5 separate regions of the Homo sapiens genome follow, and regions 1, 2, 3 and 4 are each linked to region 5. Evidence: promoter capture Hi-C in human tissues and cell types (Jung and others, 2019). All regions are on one chromosome and are shown on one strand. Each heading gives the region's core, a stretch centred on a gene start or on the middle of the fragment in contact. The rest is flanking DNA. Distances are from core to core; before and after follow the strand shown.

Region 1 (2,700 bases), core at 60-2,559, 240 kb before region 5:
GCAGGCCCCATTCTGCTCCAGTCAGGATGTTGCCTTGCAGGGATTCTGGCTCAGTGTGAGTGGGTTTCCTGATTTTCCAAAAGAAGTTGGAAATATGAGCTGGGCACAGTGGCTCACACCTGTAATCCCAACACTTTGGGAGGCTGAGGCAGGTGGATCACTTGAGGTCAGGAGTTTGAGAACAGCCTGGCCAACATGGCAAAACCCCGTCTCTACTAAAAACACAAAAATTAGCCGGGCATGGTGGTGCATGCCTGTAGTCCCAGCTACTCAGGAGGCTGAGGCAGGAGAATTGCTAGAACCCGGGAGGTGGAGGTTGCAGTGAGCCAAGATCGCACCACCGCACCCCAGCCTGGGTGACAGGGTCAGACACCGTTTCAAAAAAAAAAAAAGTTGGAAATACAAATTCCAATTCAAAAAATACTGAGACACTTTGTGGGGCAAAAAATACGAAAACCCAGGGCTGTGGGTCTCATTGCTGCTTTTCCCTGGGCCTGTGCCCACGCGATTTCTCTGCAGGACTCCCTCATCCCTGTCTGTGCCCTCCTGATCCACAAGCATCTCATGCCGACTTCCTCCCCTATCTTCCCTCACTCCCCCACCCGAGGCCATGGTCCTGATCTGTCCTTCCCAGGTTCATTCTATTTGCTTCCATCCAAGAATCCATCCCACTGTATTGTATCCCCTATCTGGCCACAGGCTGTGGCATCTGGGCAGCTCTCCTGGGTCTCAAAGGGTGCCTGGGGTGGGACTGGGGAGGCCACACCCTTCCTGGCAGTTGAAGTGGAGGCACCAGTTGGGGTGTGTTGGTGGGGAGCCCCAGCTGTGATGTCAGGCCTCACAGGGCCTGGGCTCCATCTGGCTCTTTGGGGCTGAAGGAAGGGCTGCATGAACCCCAAAGCCCCCAGGGAGCCATGGCCTCTTGGAGCCGCACCCCCCGACTTGGCTGCCTGGCTCTCTTACCTGTGGTGGTGAGGATGCTGGCAGCGAAGAGCAGGGCTGAGGGAAGGTCCCAGGTCCTGCCCTCTGAGCTGTTGCCCAGGGTGGAGACCCCATGGGCCTGGGTGGCCAGGGCAGTGCCCAGCAGCTCTTCCAGAGCTCCGGGTGGCAGGCAGGCCCTATGCTCTGCCTGGAAGGCTGCCAGCTCTGCCCTGAGCTCAGCCTGAAGCCTGCATGCAGGAGGCCCCTCCAGGGCCTGGAACACCACAGCCCCAAGCCCCAGGGCCAGCAAGTGGGCCACAACCAGGAGCCCGTATCGGGACCAGGGCCTTAGACCCCCCATGGCAGGCCGCTGGGGTGCTGTGGGAACTGGCGGCTCCACCTCAGGCACCTGGGAGGGGCTGGGCAGGGCGGGGCCAGGAGGAGGTGCTGTGTGGGTGGCTGGGACCCGGCTGGGATGGCTGGGGTGGCTGGGGTGTGAACAGGAGGGAGGTGAGCTGCATCACCCTTCCCAGGTCCTGGAGGCAAGACATTTGCCCATTTCACAGCAGCTGGGATGGTGGGGATGGGTGGAGGAAGGCGGCTGCGGTGAGGGGAGGAGGCGGAGGAAGCTGAAGCCTAGAGAGGACCTCACACTTATTCAAGGTCCTGCTCACTCAGGCACCCATACCACATTCATTCATTCATTCATTCATTCAAGTGCTTAGGGAAGAGGACAGGCACAGGTCCTTTCCTTCCTGGTGTTTACACAAGAAACCTCTTAGCAAAGAAACATGGCAACCTCACATTGTCATGAGTTCCATGAAGGAAACACCCTGGGTGATGGGAGAGCTCTGCGGGGAGCGGGGGGGTTATCTCACTGGGAAAGCTCTGCTAAGGAGGTGATATTTCAGCTGGGGAGTAAGAGGCCAGTGAAGGTAGGAATGAGCTTGGGGTGTGAGAGGAACAGAGGGCTGGCTGTGGCAGGGGAGAGTTGGGGGTGAAGGGGGGATAAGGACACAGGCCCTTGAGGATAAATGTGGTCCAGGGAGACCTACGCTGGGCTACTGTAGGCGTCATGGATGGAGTGATTTTGGCCTGGGTGGTGTGGTGGGAGAGGAATGGTGGCAGCTGGGAAGGATCAGGTGGGGGTGGGAGGTGGGGAGAGGACTCCAGGGTGCCCAGAGCACCCGGGCAGATGATACCCTTGCGCCCGATTGCCAGTTCTTCCTGAGAACGCTTTGTGCCTGCCCTCCTGACTCCCTGCCCCTGAACTGCAGACACAGAGTCTGGGCTGCCATGGGGCACCTGGGAGAGGGGAAGGGGGAGCCTGGGTTCCAACTCCTCTAACGTCAGAGGGGCTGAGGACAGAGGCCAAGGAAGGGACCCAGCCCTAGGGTATGGTGTGGGAGTGCCAGAGCCCCCATGGCAGTGTGAAGAGAATGGACAGAGGCCGAGGGAGGGACCCTGCCCTAGGGTATGGTGTGGGAGTGCCAGAGCCCCCATGGCAGTGTGAAGAGAACTGTCAGGGGTGCCAGATGCCATGGCAAGTCACCATACTGGGAGGTGGGTGGAACTTACTACTCTTTTTTTTGAGATGGAGTCTCGCTCTGTCGCCCAGGCTGGAGTGCAGTGGTGCAATCTCGGCTCACTCAACCTTCGCCGCCCGGGTTCAAGCTATTCTCCTGCCTCAGCCTCCCAAGTAGCTGGGGCTACAGGCACCTGCCACCACGCCTGGTTAATTTTTGTATATATATATATTTTTTTCAGTAGAGACGGGGT
Region 2 (2,700 bases), core at 60-2,559, 220 kb after region 5:
ATTTCACACCCCTTGCGTTTAGTAGTCATTGGGGTTTGCATTGCCCAGATACAGTGGTTCCTGTTTATGTAAGTCCTCTCAATTTCCATGTTCCTTCTGATCCAGGATTTGCCTCATTTTCTCTAAAGCAGTGGCTCTGACCTGGCATCTACTGATCTCTGTGTGTAGGATGAGGAGTCCCTAGATGGCCTCAGAGGCGTCTTTGAGTCTCCTAGAATTGTATGCAGAATCTATATTCAGGATATCTTTTTGGAGAGAGTGGATAGCTTCCTTTGGTTGGTGCCAGAAGTTAACATTCTCATATCTTTATAGAGCTGTGGAGCATTCTCTCTTATGGAGTGGTAACTATGTATCATTTGACTTAGAATTCCAGCTCCTGACTCAAAGTAGATCCCCCAGATATTTGCAGAATGAGTAGATAAATGCTTCCTAGTTTTATGATCATATTTTCTCCACAGCTCCCTGGAATTCCCATGCCACCACCACCTTTGGGACTCCCCCCTCTGCAGCCTCCTCCGCCACCCCCACCACCTCCACCAGGCCTTGGCCTTGGCTTTCCTATGGCCCACCCACCAAATTTGGGGCCCCCGCCTCCTCTCCGTGTGGGTGAGCCAGTGGCACTGTCAGAGGAGGAGCGGCTGAAGTTGGCTCAGCAGCAGGCGGCATTGCTGATGCAGCAGGAGGAGCGTGCCAAGCAGGTAGGGCAGGTGGCAGCCCTGGCCTTGGACTCATTAGGTCCCTGAAGGGGCAGTGGAGCCTTAGAGAAAGCTGGGTCCTAGAACTAAGGCTTCTGGGAAGGTCGGGACTAAAGATTGGAACATGGGCCCTTGACTGGAAGAGGATCTCAAGAAGCAAGAGTTGTGGCAGATTGGCGTGTTGGGTATTGGTGCTGGTATGAACTTGTTTTCTTTTTTAAGCAGGGAGATCATTCGCTGAAGGAACATGAGCTCTTGGAGCAGCAGAAGCGGGTAATACCCCTCCCCCTAACCTTTGACCTCGTGGTCCAGTCAGTTGGCTGTCATTTATAGTGCTTAGAGTGCACCATTCAAGTTTTCCCTGGAGGCTACTTTGTTCTCAACTAAGTTCTAGTATCTTCCAAAGCTTTCAATTTTTCTTGAAGTTCAGGAATTGACAAACTATGACCTGTGGCCTGCATGTGTATGGCCTATGAGCTAAAAATAACTTTAAAATTTTTTAAGGGTTATAAGAAAACCCAAACCAAAAATATGTACCAGAGTCTGTACAGCAACCCATAAAGCCTAAAATATTTACCTTCTGACCTATTATAAAAAGAGCCTGCTGACCTCTGCTCGCCTTACATGACATCATTCTAGATAGGACTCTGGGTAATTGAGTTATTTGTATTGGATTTAGACAGAATAGGACTGTAAGTCTGGGAATGTTATATAAGATGTTTGGCCCCAGAGGTGCATTGCATCAGTCATTACCCAGTGGGTTACTCAGGAGTATTAAAAAGTAAGTGTTAAAAAGCAACAAGTATGAGCTGGGTGCCGTGGCTCACACCTGTAATCCTAGCACTTTGGGAGGCTGAGGTGGGTGGATCGCTTGAGCTCAGGAGTTCGAGACCAGCCTGGCCAACATAATGAAACCCTGTCTCTCAGAAATACAAAAATTAGCCAGGTGTGGCGGCGCATGCCTGTAGTCCCAGCTACTTGGGAGGCTGAGGTGGGAGGATGGCTTGAGCTGGGGAGGCCGAGGTTGCAGTGAGCTGAGATCATGCCACTGTACTCCAGCCTAGGCAACAGAGCCAGACTCTGTCTCAAAAAAAAAAAAAAAAAAAAAAGCCACAAGTCTGGACCTGTGGGTAAAGTACTGTCTTTGCCCAGATTGTGCTGGATCTTGAGGGGTGGATATAAGAAAAGAGCTCAAAAGTTTCTTCTGTATAATTTAATCTTTTGGGGAAGAAAACTCTCTGAAAAGTAGAAGGCACTGTTTGGCTCAATATGAAATTCTCTGCTAGGAACCAGAAGTTTCCTGGGGTTTTCCTTGGTGTTATTTCTAGGGATTTTCCGTTGTGATGAGAGGGCTCCTCCGTTTGGATTAGTAGCCTGGAAGTGTGGGGGTGGAGGGGATGTCAGCACCCAAGTGGTTCGTGATTGTTCTCCTTGGGCCCATTACCCGGCTGAAAGAATGCATTTGCCAGGGGCTGCCTGCCAAATGCGTTTTCAGGCAGTATCTACTCCCACTTCCCTCCCGTAGGCAGCTGTGTTACTGGAGCAGGAACGACAGCAGGAGATTGCCAAGATGGGCACCCCAGTCCCTCGGCCCCCACAAGACATGGGCCAGATTGGTGTGCGCACTCCTCTGGGTCCTCGAGGTGAGACCCTGGAACCGAGGGGAAGGGCAAGGAAGGTGATTTAGACATTTTTAAAAAGACTTTTAAGGTATCTATCACATTTAAAAAGGGCATATATAGTAAATATATAGTTTAATGGTTTTTTACACACTGAACACACCTGTACAACCAGCACCTGGACCATGATCCAAAACATTACCAGCATTCCAAAAGCCACGCCACGTGCCCTCCTCCCCTGCAGGTTTACCATCACCCTTTCAGCAAGAGAGGTAATTTTTTACGTGAGTGTTTTGCCTCTTCTGACATTGGATTTCTTTTTCCCGTCTCTTAGTAGCTGCTCCAGTGGGCCCAGTGGGCCCCACTCCTACAGTTTTGCCCATGGG
Region 3 (2,700 bases), core at 47-2,546, 200 kb after region 5:
GTTCTGGGATTACAGGCGTGAGCCACCATGCCCGGGCTGAGTCTTCCCATTTGTAATGGAGTATGAGAGCCTGACTCCTTCGCCCTCTGTTGCGTTGTAGCAATCCCATGAGATTGGGATGAAGGTGGAGGATGGGGGTGGCAGAGGGTGATCCTGTCCTGTCCTTTGCCCACTGGAGGGCACCAGGGAAACTCTTGCTGGGGAGAAGAGGATTGGCTGGCAGGGATCCTCAGATTTCTGTAGCCCTGCTGGGCCAGAGGAGCTAATCTAGAATCTATGAGGTTGAGAGAGGGGCTCCCCTTCCTCTTCTCCATGCCCTTCTCTGGCTGGGACTGACTGTCTAGCCCCTTTCTTCAGGCACCTCTGCCCCACAGCCCCTCTGCACGCCTCTGGCCCATTCTGGGAAGCTGCCCGGTTGTGTTGGCAGAGCACCAGCTTCTCTCTCTTTGCCTCACCTCACCTTGGGCTCCCAAAGAACTTGGGCTCTCTGCCTCTCCCTCCCACTCAAACCTGCTCCCAGGAGGCTTTTATAATGAGGCTGTTTAATAAGGAGCCTGCAGGGATGGCTGGGAGGGTGTTTCACGGGGTCGGGTAATGTATTATGGTGGGAGGACCTGGGCTTTGGAGCCTGAGCAGTCTGGTTTCTGTCCTAGCTCAGCTTCTCCCGGCTGTATGAGCCTGGGCACTTCAACTTTTTGTATCTCAGTTTCCTCTTCTACAAGAGGGGATATAGCTGGGTGTTTAGTGGTACCTGCCTATAATCCCAGCTACTCAGGAGTCTGAGGGAGGATTGCTTGAGCCTGGGAGTTTACGGCTGCAGTGAGTCACGATTGCACCACTGCCCCCTCCGAGTAGCTGAGACTTGTGTGACAAGTGAGACCCTGTCTCTAAAATAAATAAAAGAGGGAGAGAAGAGTAACAGCTACCTCTTAGGGTGTTGTAAAAATCAAGTAAGTTGGCTGGGCCTGGTGGCTCATGCCTGTAATCCCAGCACTTTGAGGGTCCAAGGCAGGTGGATCGCTTGAGGCCAGGAGTTTGAGACCAGCCTGGCCAATATGGTGAAACCCTGTGTCCATTAAAAATGCAAAAATTAGCCAGGTGTGGTGGTGGGTGCCTGTAATCCCAGCTATTCGGGAGGCTCAGGCAGGAGAATCACTTGAACCTGAGCGGCAGAAGTTGCAGTGAGCCGAGATCATGCCACTGTACTCCAACCTGGGCGATAGAGCGCAACTCCATCTCAAAAAAAAAAAAAAAATCGAGTAAGTTAAAATACATAAAGTGTAGAGAAGAGCACCTAGCACAGGGGTCCCCAACCCCCAGGCCATGGACGTTACCACCTGAGCTCTGCCTCCTGTCAGATCACCATTAGATTCTCTTAGGAGTGTGAACCCCCTATTGTGAACTGCATGTGCGGGGGATTTAGGTTGTGCACTCCTTATGAAAATCTAATGCCTGATGATCTGAGGTGGAACAGTTTCATCCCAAAACCATCCCCCTTAACCCCTCACACCACGGACAAATTCTCTTCCACAAAGCCAGTCCCTGGTGCCAAAAACATTGGGGACCACTGACCTAGCATATAGTAAGTGATATGGTTTGGCTGTGTGTCCCCCCCACCCGCCCAGATCTCATGTTGAAATGTGATCTCCAGTGCTGGAGGTGGGGCCTGGTGGGAGATGTTTGGATCATGGGGTAGATCCCTCATTAATGGCTTGGTGCCATCCCCTTGGTGATCGGCGAGTTCTTGCTCTGAGTTCACAGTGATCTGGTTGTTTGAAAGTGTGTGGCACCTCCCCTCAGAGGGCATTGACCTTGTTCCTGCTTCTGGCATGTGATATGCTTGCTTCCACTTCACCTTTCACACAATTGTAAGCTTACTGAGGCCTCCTCAGAAGCCGAGCAGATGTCAGCACCATGCCTGTACAGCCTGCAGAACTGGGAGCCAATCAAAACTATTTTCTTTTCTTTTCTTTTTCTTTTCCACTTTGTAGCCCAGGCTGGAGTGCAGTGGCTGATCTCAGCTCACTGCAAGCTCCACCTCCTGGGTTCACGGCATTCTCCTGCCTCAGCCTCCCGAGTAGCTGGGACTACAGGTGCCTGCCACCATGCCTGGCTAATTTTTTTGTATTTTTAATAGAGACGGGGTTTCACTGTGTTAGCCAGGATGGTCTTGATCTCCTGACCTCGTGATCCACCCGCCTCAGCCTCCCAAAGTGCTGGGATTACAGGCATGAGCCACTGTGCCCAGCCCCAATCAAACCTGTTTTCTTTAATTACCCAGACTCACGTATTTCTTCATAGCAATGCAAAAACAGCCTAATAGAGTAAGTGCTCAGTAAAAGTTAGTAGCATTGTTCTTATTAACGTGCCTTCTCTCAGTGGCATTTGCAGCTTTTATTTTTGGATGGAGTCTCTCTCTGTCACCCAGGCTGGAGTGCAGTGGCACAATCTCGGCTGTCTGCAACCTCTGCTTCCTGGGTTCAAGGCATTCTCCTGCCTTAGCCTCCTGAGTAGCTGGGATTACAGGCATGCACAACCACACCCAGCTAATTTTGTATTTTAGTAGAGATGGGGTTTCACCATGTTGGCCAGGCTGGTCTCAAATTCCTGATTTCAAGTGATCCACCCCCACTTGGCCTCCCAAAGTGCTGGGATTACAGGCATGAGCCACTGCACCTGGCCATGCAGCTTGTTACTAAA
Region 4 (2,700 bases), core at 176-2,675, 180 kb after region 5:
GTGAGCCACCACACCTGGCAATTATTGGAGTCTTTAAAAACACAGTCATGGGCCTTGTTTGCTGGTACCTCCAGCACATGCTCACTGTATCCACGGGACAGCCAGATTCGAAACATCAATATCAGAACAAACTTAGGAGATAAGGTGTCTTTCAGACGAGGGCACGGAGGCTCTGTGTGGGAGGTTGAGGGACTTGCCCAAAGCCATGCCGTCAGTAAGATGGCAGAGCTGACATGACTGACACCCCCTCCTTCTGGGCAGTTTGTGTCCTGTGGGCTCAGTCTGGTTTAAGACCACAGATTTGACTTAGACTGTCAGCACACACAAGCCAGTGTCACCATTTATTTCCTGCCGGTGTCTTTGGGCAAATCCATTTTCCCTTCTCTGTAAAGTGGAAACTATTTTTTTTCTTTTTTCTTTTTTTTTTTTGTGAGACAGAGTCTCTCTCTGTCACCCAGGCTAGAGCGCAGTGGTGCCATTTTGGCTCACTGCAACCTCTGCCTCCCAGGTTCAAGCAATTCCCCTGCCTCAGCCTTCTGAGTAGCTGGGAATTCAGGTGTGTGCCACCACGCCTGGCTAATTTTTGTATTTTTGGTAGAGACGGGGTTTCACCATGTTGGCCAGGCTGGTCTTGAACTCCTGACCTCAAGTGATCTGCCTGCCTCGGCCTCCCAAAGTGCTGGGATTACAAGTGTGAGCCCTCATGCCCGGCCTTCTTTTTTTTTTTTTTTTTTTTTTTTTTTTTTGAGTCAGCGTCTAGCTCTGTCGCCCAGGCTGGAATGCTGCAGTGGTGAGATCACGATTCACTGACTTGAACTCCTTGGCTCAAGTGGTCCTCCCACCTTGGCCTCTCAAAGTGCTGGAATTACAAGCATGCCTAGGTGCCTGGCCAGGTAGAAACATTAGTCACTCGCGCTCCAGGAAGGTTGTCAGGCAGCGCTGAGCAGTAATGTGTCCTACTCACCTGCTGTTTATCCAGCACCAGACCTCTTCTAAGAACTTTACCTGTTTCAGCTCACTGAATCCTCACAACACCCATTGTACAGAAGAGGAAACTGAGGCAGCGAGTGGTTAAGTGACTTCTCCGAGGTTACACAGCTAGGAAATGGTGGCAACAGTAAGAGCCCACGAAGAGCTGCGGTTGGTAGTTCATTCTGGACAGCCCTCCCGTGAACCGTCCCTGTACTGGCACTTGTTGCTGGGGACTGTCGCTGTCCTCTCCCTCCCCGGGCCAGGTGTGTCCTGGAGGGCAGGGAAGCGTCTTGGCACGCGGGTGCGCGCCGCCCCCTCGGCCTCCTGGGCTCCCTGAACCTCGCAGGACCCCGGCAACTTCGAGCCCCGCCCCAGCTCCAGGCCGCGGGGGCGCATCGCGGGCGTCGGGCGGGGCGGCCCAGCGGGTAAAAGCTGCGCGGCCGCAAGCTCGGCACTCACGGCTCTGAGGGCTCCGACGGCACTGACGGCCATGGCGCGTTCGAACCTCCCGCTGGCGCTGGGCCTGGCCCTGGTCGCATTCTGCCTCCTGGCGCTGCCACGCGACGCCCGGGCCCGGCCGCAGGAGCGCATGGTCGGAGAACTCCGGGACCTGTCGCCCGACGACCCGCAGGTGCAGAAGGCGGCGCAGGCGGCCGTGGCCAGCTACAACATGGGCAGCAACAGCATCTACTACTTCCGAGACACGCACATCATCAAGGCGCAGAGCCAGGTGCGGCGGGCGGGGTGCTGGGAGGGGACACCCGGCCCAGATGGGGGAGGCCACAGGCGCTGCCCCAGCGTGCATGAAGGGGGCCTAAAAGCGCAATCGGGATATTTTCATGCAATATTTTAAAAATCGAATTAATGCTAAAACTCCACGATGGACAACCATCTAAATTTCAAGGAAAGACATAATTAAACCCTGTATTGCACTACCTGCCTTCCTGGCTTGCCTGGTCCTAGTCTCTGCCCTGATGGGGTGGATCGGGGAGGAGGGAAGGCAGGTGGGGACAGTGGGCAGCTCCCTAGATGGGGCATGTCTGATGTCTGCCAAGGCTGCTGGTGGGGCTCAGCCTCCAGGCCTCTCCACCCTCCATCCCCACCAGAACTCCCCCCCCCACCCCCCCCCACCCCCCCCCACCCCGTCTGAATCATCCCCTCTCCCTCTCTCCCCACCTGAGTGCCTGGGGGCAACAGGAGAATATATCAAGAGGTGAGAAGTGAGGATCAAGGGTCAAGACCCCTGACCTGCCCCTACCCTATGCCCCCAGCTGGTGGCCGGCATCAAGTACTTCCTGACGATGGAGATGGGGAGCACAGACTGCCGCAAGACCAGGGTCACTGGAGACCACGTCGACCTCACCACTTGCCCCCTGGCAGCAGGGGCGCAGCAGGAGGTAACAGCTGGGCTCCTCCAGCCCCAGCCCTCCCCAGAGCCTCAGGCACTCAGGTTGTCCATCCTGAACTGGTTTGGCTGGACACGTAGATGTCTAGATGTCTGGCTGAACCTGTCGTCCTTCTGGATGAGTCAGCCTCTGGGCCAAGATGGGGTGCAGAAAGGAAGCTGGGGCTTCCCTCGGGAATGGGGAAGTTGGCTACCAAGATCTGGAGTCTAGCCCCAGACATGCGGCTTGACATCCGTTGGGTCAGTGATTGTCCCTCTCTTGGCCTGGAGCAGCCTGGCAGGCAGAGGGCTGGCTGTTGGGAGGAGACAGGTCGAGGCTGGGC
Region 5 (2,700 bases), core at 114-2,613:
CTCTCTGATTGATCTCAGCATCTCTCCACTCAACCTCAGCTTCTCATCACTGGTTCCCAGCTTCTCTCCACTAGTTCCCAGCTTCTCTCCACTCCATCTCAGCTTCTCTCTACTTGATCTCAAATTCTCTCCACTTGATCTCAGCTTTCTGCCACTGGACCTCAGCTTCACTCCACTGGACCCCTGCTTCTCTCCCCTGCACACCAGCTTCTCACTAGTAGACCTCAGCTTCTCTACACTTGATCTCATCTTGTCTACACTAGACCTCAACCCCTTCTCATCCTGTCCCAGTTTATATCCATTGGATCTCAAGTCCTCTCCACTGGTCCCTACCTTCTCCCCAGCAGACCTCAACCTCTCTTCAAACCCAGACCCCTTCATAGGCCCTGCTGTCATCCCTGCACTCTTAGATTTAGCCTTTATTTCGTGTTTGACCTCTTGCTTTCCCCAAATACCCCTTGGGCTGTCTTTCCCCAAATCTGCTGAAGCTTGTGATGCACTTGCTCCACGGTATAGCAGCTTCACATCCATCCTTTCCTGACTCGGGCCTGACTTCCCTTTCAAGACCGTCTTTTCCACATCTTCCAGTCTCCAGTACTCAGACTCCAGCTTCGGCTTTCGAGTGTTTCTAGTCAGGAGCTCCACTCTCTTCCCAATTACCATGAGCCCGTTCCAAGGTCCCCAGGTTTTCTCTCGCAGCATCGGCACCCCCTTGCAGCCCCGCTCCAGTGGCGACCGTTCGCGGACCCCGGCCTCGCTTGGGGCGCCCTGGCCGCGGGACTTGTGGAGCTCCCTAGTCCTCCTAGGCTGCTTACCCCGCCGCTCCCTCCCGTCCAAGAGCGGAAACCTAAACAGACCCCCCTTCTCCACAGACATTGTCCCCTGCCCTCGCCCCTGGTCCACCACCCACATCCCCACCACTGCTTCCCATTCCCTGTCCCCACCCTGCCACCCTCACCCTCTTCCCCTTCCCCTTCCCCTTCCCCACTGCCTGGTGGGCGCCAAACTGGGCGAGTGCGCACGCGCAGGCCGCACGTGGCCGTTGGAAGGAGGGGCCCGGAACGGCGGCACGGGGTTGTTGTGGGGGTCAGTCCCCCGGGGACTGGAGGGAGACGCGGCACGCGGCCTCTGCGACCCTATGAACTCTGACCCCAGCTCCCACACTGTCGCCTATCACCGGCCCACTCTCCGTGCCGCGTGTCCCTTAAAAGCTGGGGCCTGGGACAGGAACGACAGACAATGCAGCCAATGGCGTCACGCGCGGTGCCCCGCTACCCAATCGAAAGGCGTGGCTGAGGGAAACGCGGTGGGAACCGCCCCCGACTCCAGGCGACTCCTTGGCCGGGCGGGGGAGAGCGTCCCCGTCAGCTGAGAGCATCCTCACTCGGTCAGTTCCTCGGGCGAGTTACGGGGACGACCTGCGGGAGCACGCGGGCAGTGGCCGGACGCTGAAGCCCAGGAGAGCGATGGAGACGTATGCGGAGGTTGGGAAGGAGGGCAAGGTAGAGAAAGGATGAAGACCCCCACCCCAGCCTCCCCTCACTCCATGAAAGCCCGTGATGCCCAATCATGCGGTGGTGTGTGTGTGTCTGTGTGTGTGTGGTCTGCCTCTGTGTGTTTCTGTGTGTGTCTGTGTGTGTATAGTCTGCATGTGTCTGTTTCTCTGTGTGTCTGTGTGTATGTCGATGTGCCTGCATATGTCTGTGTGTGTGTGTATCTGTGTATGTCTGTATTTGTGTCTCTGTGTGTCTGTGTGTCTGTGTGTGTCTCAGTGTGTGTCTGTGTCTTTGTGTGTCTCTGTGTATCTGTGTGTGTGTCTGTGTGTCTCCGTGTCTCTGTGTGTGTGTGTATGGCCTGTGTGTGTCTGTGTGTGTGCACGTATGCGTCCATGTGGGTGTTTGTGCGTGCATGTCTGTGTCTGTCTCTGTGTGTGTCTGTGCATGTCTGTGTGTGTGTGTCTGTGTGTCTGTGTCTGTGTATGGTCTGCGTGTGTCTTTGTGTCTGTGTCTGTCTGTGTGTATGGTCTGCATGTGTGCATGTATGCATCTGTGTGTGTCTCTGTGTGTATCTGTGTGTGCACGCATGTGCCTGTGTGTGTCTGCGCAGGTCTGTGTCTCTTTGTGTCTGAGTGTGTGTCTGTCTCTGTGTCTATGTATGGTCTGCGTGCATCTTTATGTCTGTGTGTGTGTGTCTCTGTGTGTGTGTATGGTCTGCGTGTGTCTGTGTGTGTGTGTCTGTGTATTTCTGGGTCTGTGTGTGTGTTTGCATGTGTCTGTGTGTGTCTGTATCCGTGTGTCTTTGTATATCTGTGTGTGTCTATGTCAGTGTGTCTGTGTGTGCATCTGTGTGTGTCTGTGTGCCTGTGTATGATCTGTGTATGTCGTTGTGTGTGTCTGTGTGTGTGTTTCTCTGTGCCTGTGTGTTTGTGTGTGTCTGTGTATCTGTGTGTGTTTCTATGTGTGTCTGTGTGTGCGTGTGTCTGTGTTTGTCTCGTGTGTCTGTGTGTGTGTATGTGCCCATGTGTCTCTGTGTGTATGTGTGTGTCTGCGCAAGTGAGAGAAAGGAGACTTGAGCAAGGGAGTGGGGAGCCTCTGTGGCACCTGTGTGCGGACTGATGAGGATGCCAAGGGAGGCAGGGTTTTGCCTTTGTCCTTACAGATGGAAAGGGACCCGTCACTGTCACTCTTACCCTCCCCAAGA

What was found. Contacts are between HindIII fragments. The study calls those that stand out against the background at their distance.
Region 1: the fragment with the promoter of KCNK7 here is called in contact with the fragment with the promoter of SNX32 in region 5 in 11 of the 25 tissues and cell types used here (H1 embryonic stem cells, IMR-90 fibroblasts, bladder and 8 more).
Region 2: a contact is called between a fragment that was not itself captured here and the fragment with the promoter of SNX32 in region 5, in 1 of the 25 tissues and cell types used here (spleen).
Region 3: a fragment that was not itself captured here is called in contact with the fragment with the promoter of SNX32 in region 5 in 1 of the 25 tissues and cell types used here (spleen).
Region 4: the fragment with the promoter of CST6 here is called in contact with the fragment with the promoter of SNX32 in region 5 in 1 of the 25 tissues and cell types used here (mesenchymal stem cells).

The regions. Positions count from the first base shown.
Region 1 is chr11:65,594,491-65,597,190 of GRCh38, forward strand. KCNK7 (potassium two pore domain channel subfamily K member 7) reads right to left here and starts at 1,310. Exons shown (of 3, transcript NM_033347.2): 1 at 964-1,310. The coding sequence starts at 1,282. The HindIII fragment of the contact is 18,543 bases long and covers 1-2,700 here.
Region 2 is chr11:66,054,618-66,057,317 of GRCh38, forward strand. SF3B2 (splicing factor 3b subunit 2) reads left to right here. Exons shown (of 22, transcript NM_006842.3): 4 at 459-698; 5 at 918-968; 6 at 2,221-2,338; 7 at 2,649-2,700. Among named protein-coding and RNA genes, the nearest start is that of SNORD13F, 2.8 kb to the left of the region's middle. The HindIII fragment of the contact is 4,123 bases long and covers 1-2,700 here.
Region 3 is chr11:66,035,678-66,038,377 of GRCh38, forward strand. No RefSeq gene overlaps it. Among named protein-coding and RNA genes, the nearest start is that of CATSPER1, 11 kb to the left of the region's middle. The HindIII fragment of the contact is 7,933 bases long and covers 1-2,700 here.
Region 4 is chr11:66,010,583-66,013,282 of GRCh38, forward strand. It overlaps CST6 (cystatin E/M), which reads left to right and starts at 1,426. Exons shown (of 3, transcript NM_001323.4): 1 at 1,426-1,702; 2 at 2,244-2,369. The coding sequence starts at 1,463. The HindIII fragment of the contact is 16,997 bases long and covers 1-2,700 here.
Region 5 is chr11:65,832,600-65,835,299 of GRCh38, forward strand. SNX32 (sorting nexin 32) reads left to right here and starts at 1,364. Exons shown (of 13, transcript NM_152760.3): 1 at 1,364-1,502. The coding sequence starts at 1,467. LOC124902693 reads right to left here and starts at 1,200. Exons shown (of 7, transcript XM_047427980.1): 1 at 1-1,200. The coding sequence starts at 912. RefSeq lists silencers at 916-1,045, 1,219-1,431 and an enhancer at 1,356-1,445. The HindIII fragment of the contact is 13,089 bases long and covers 1-2,700 here.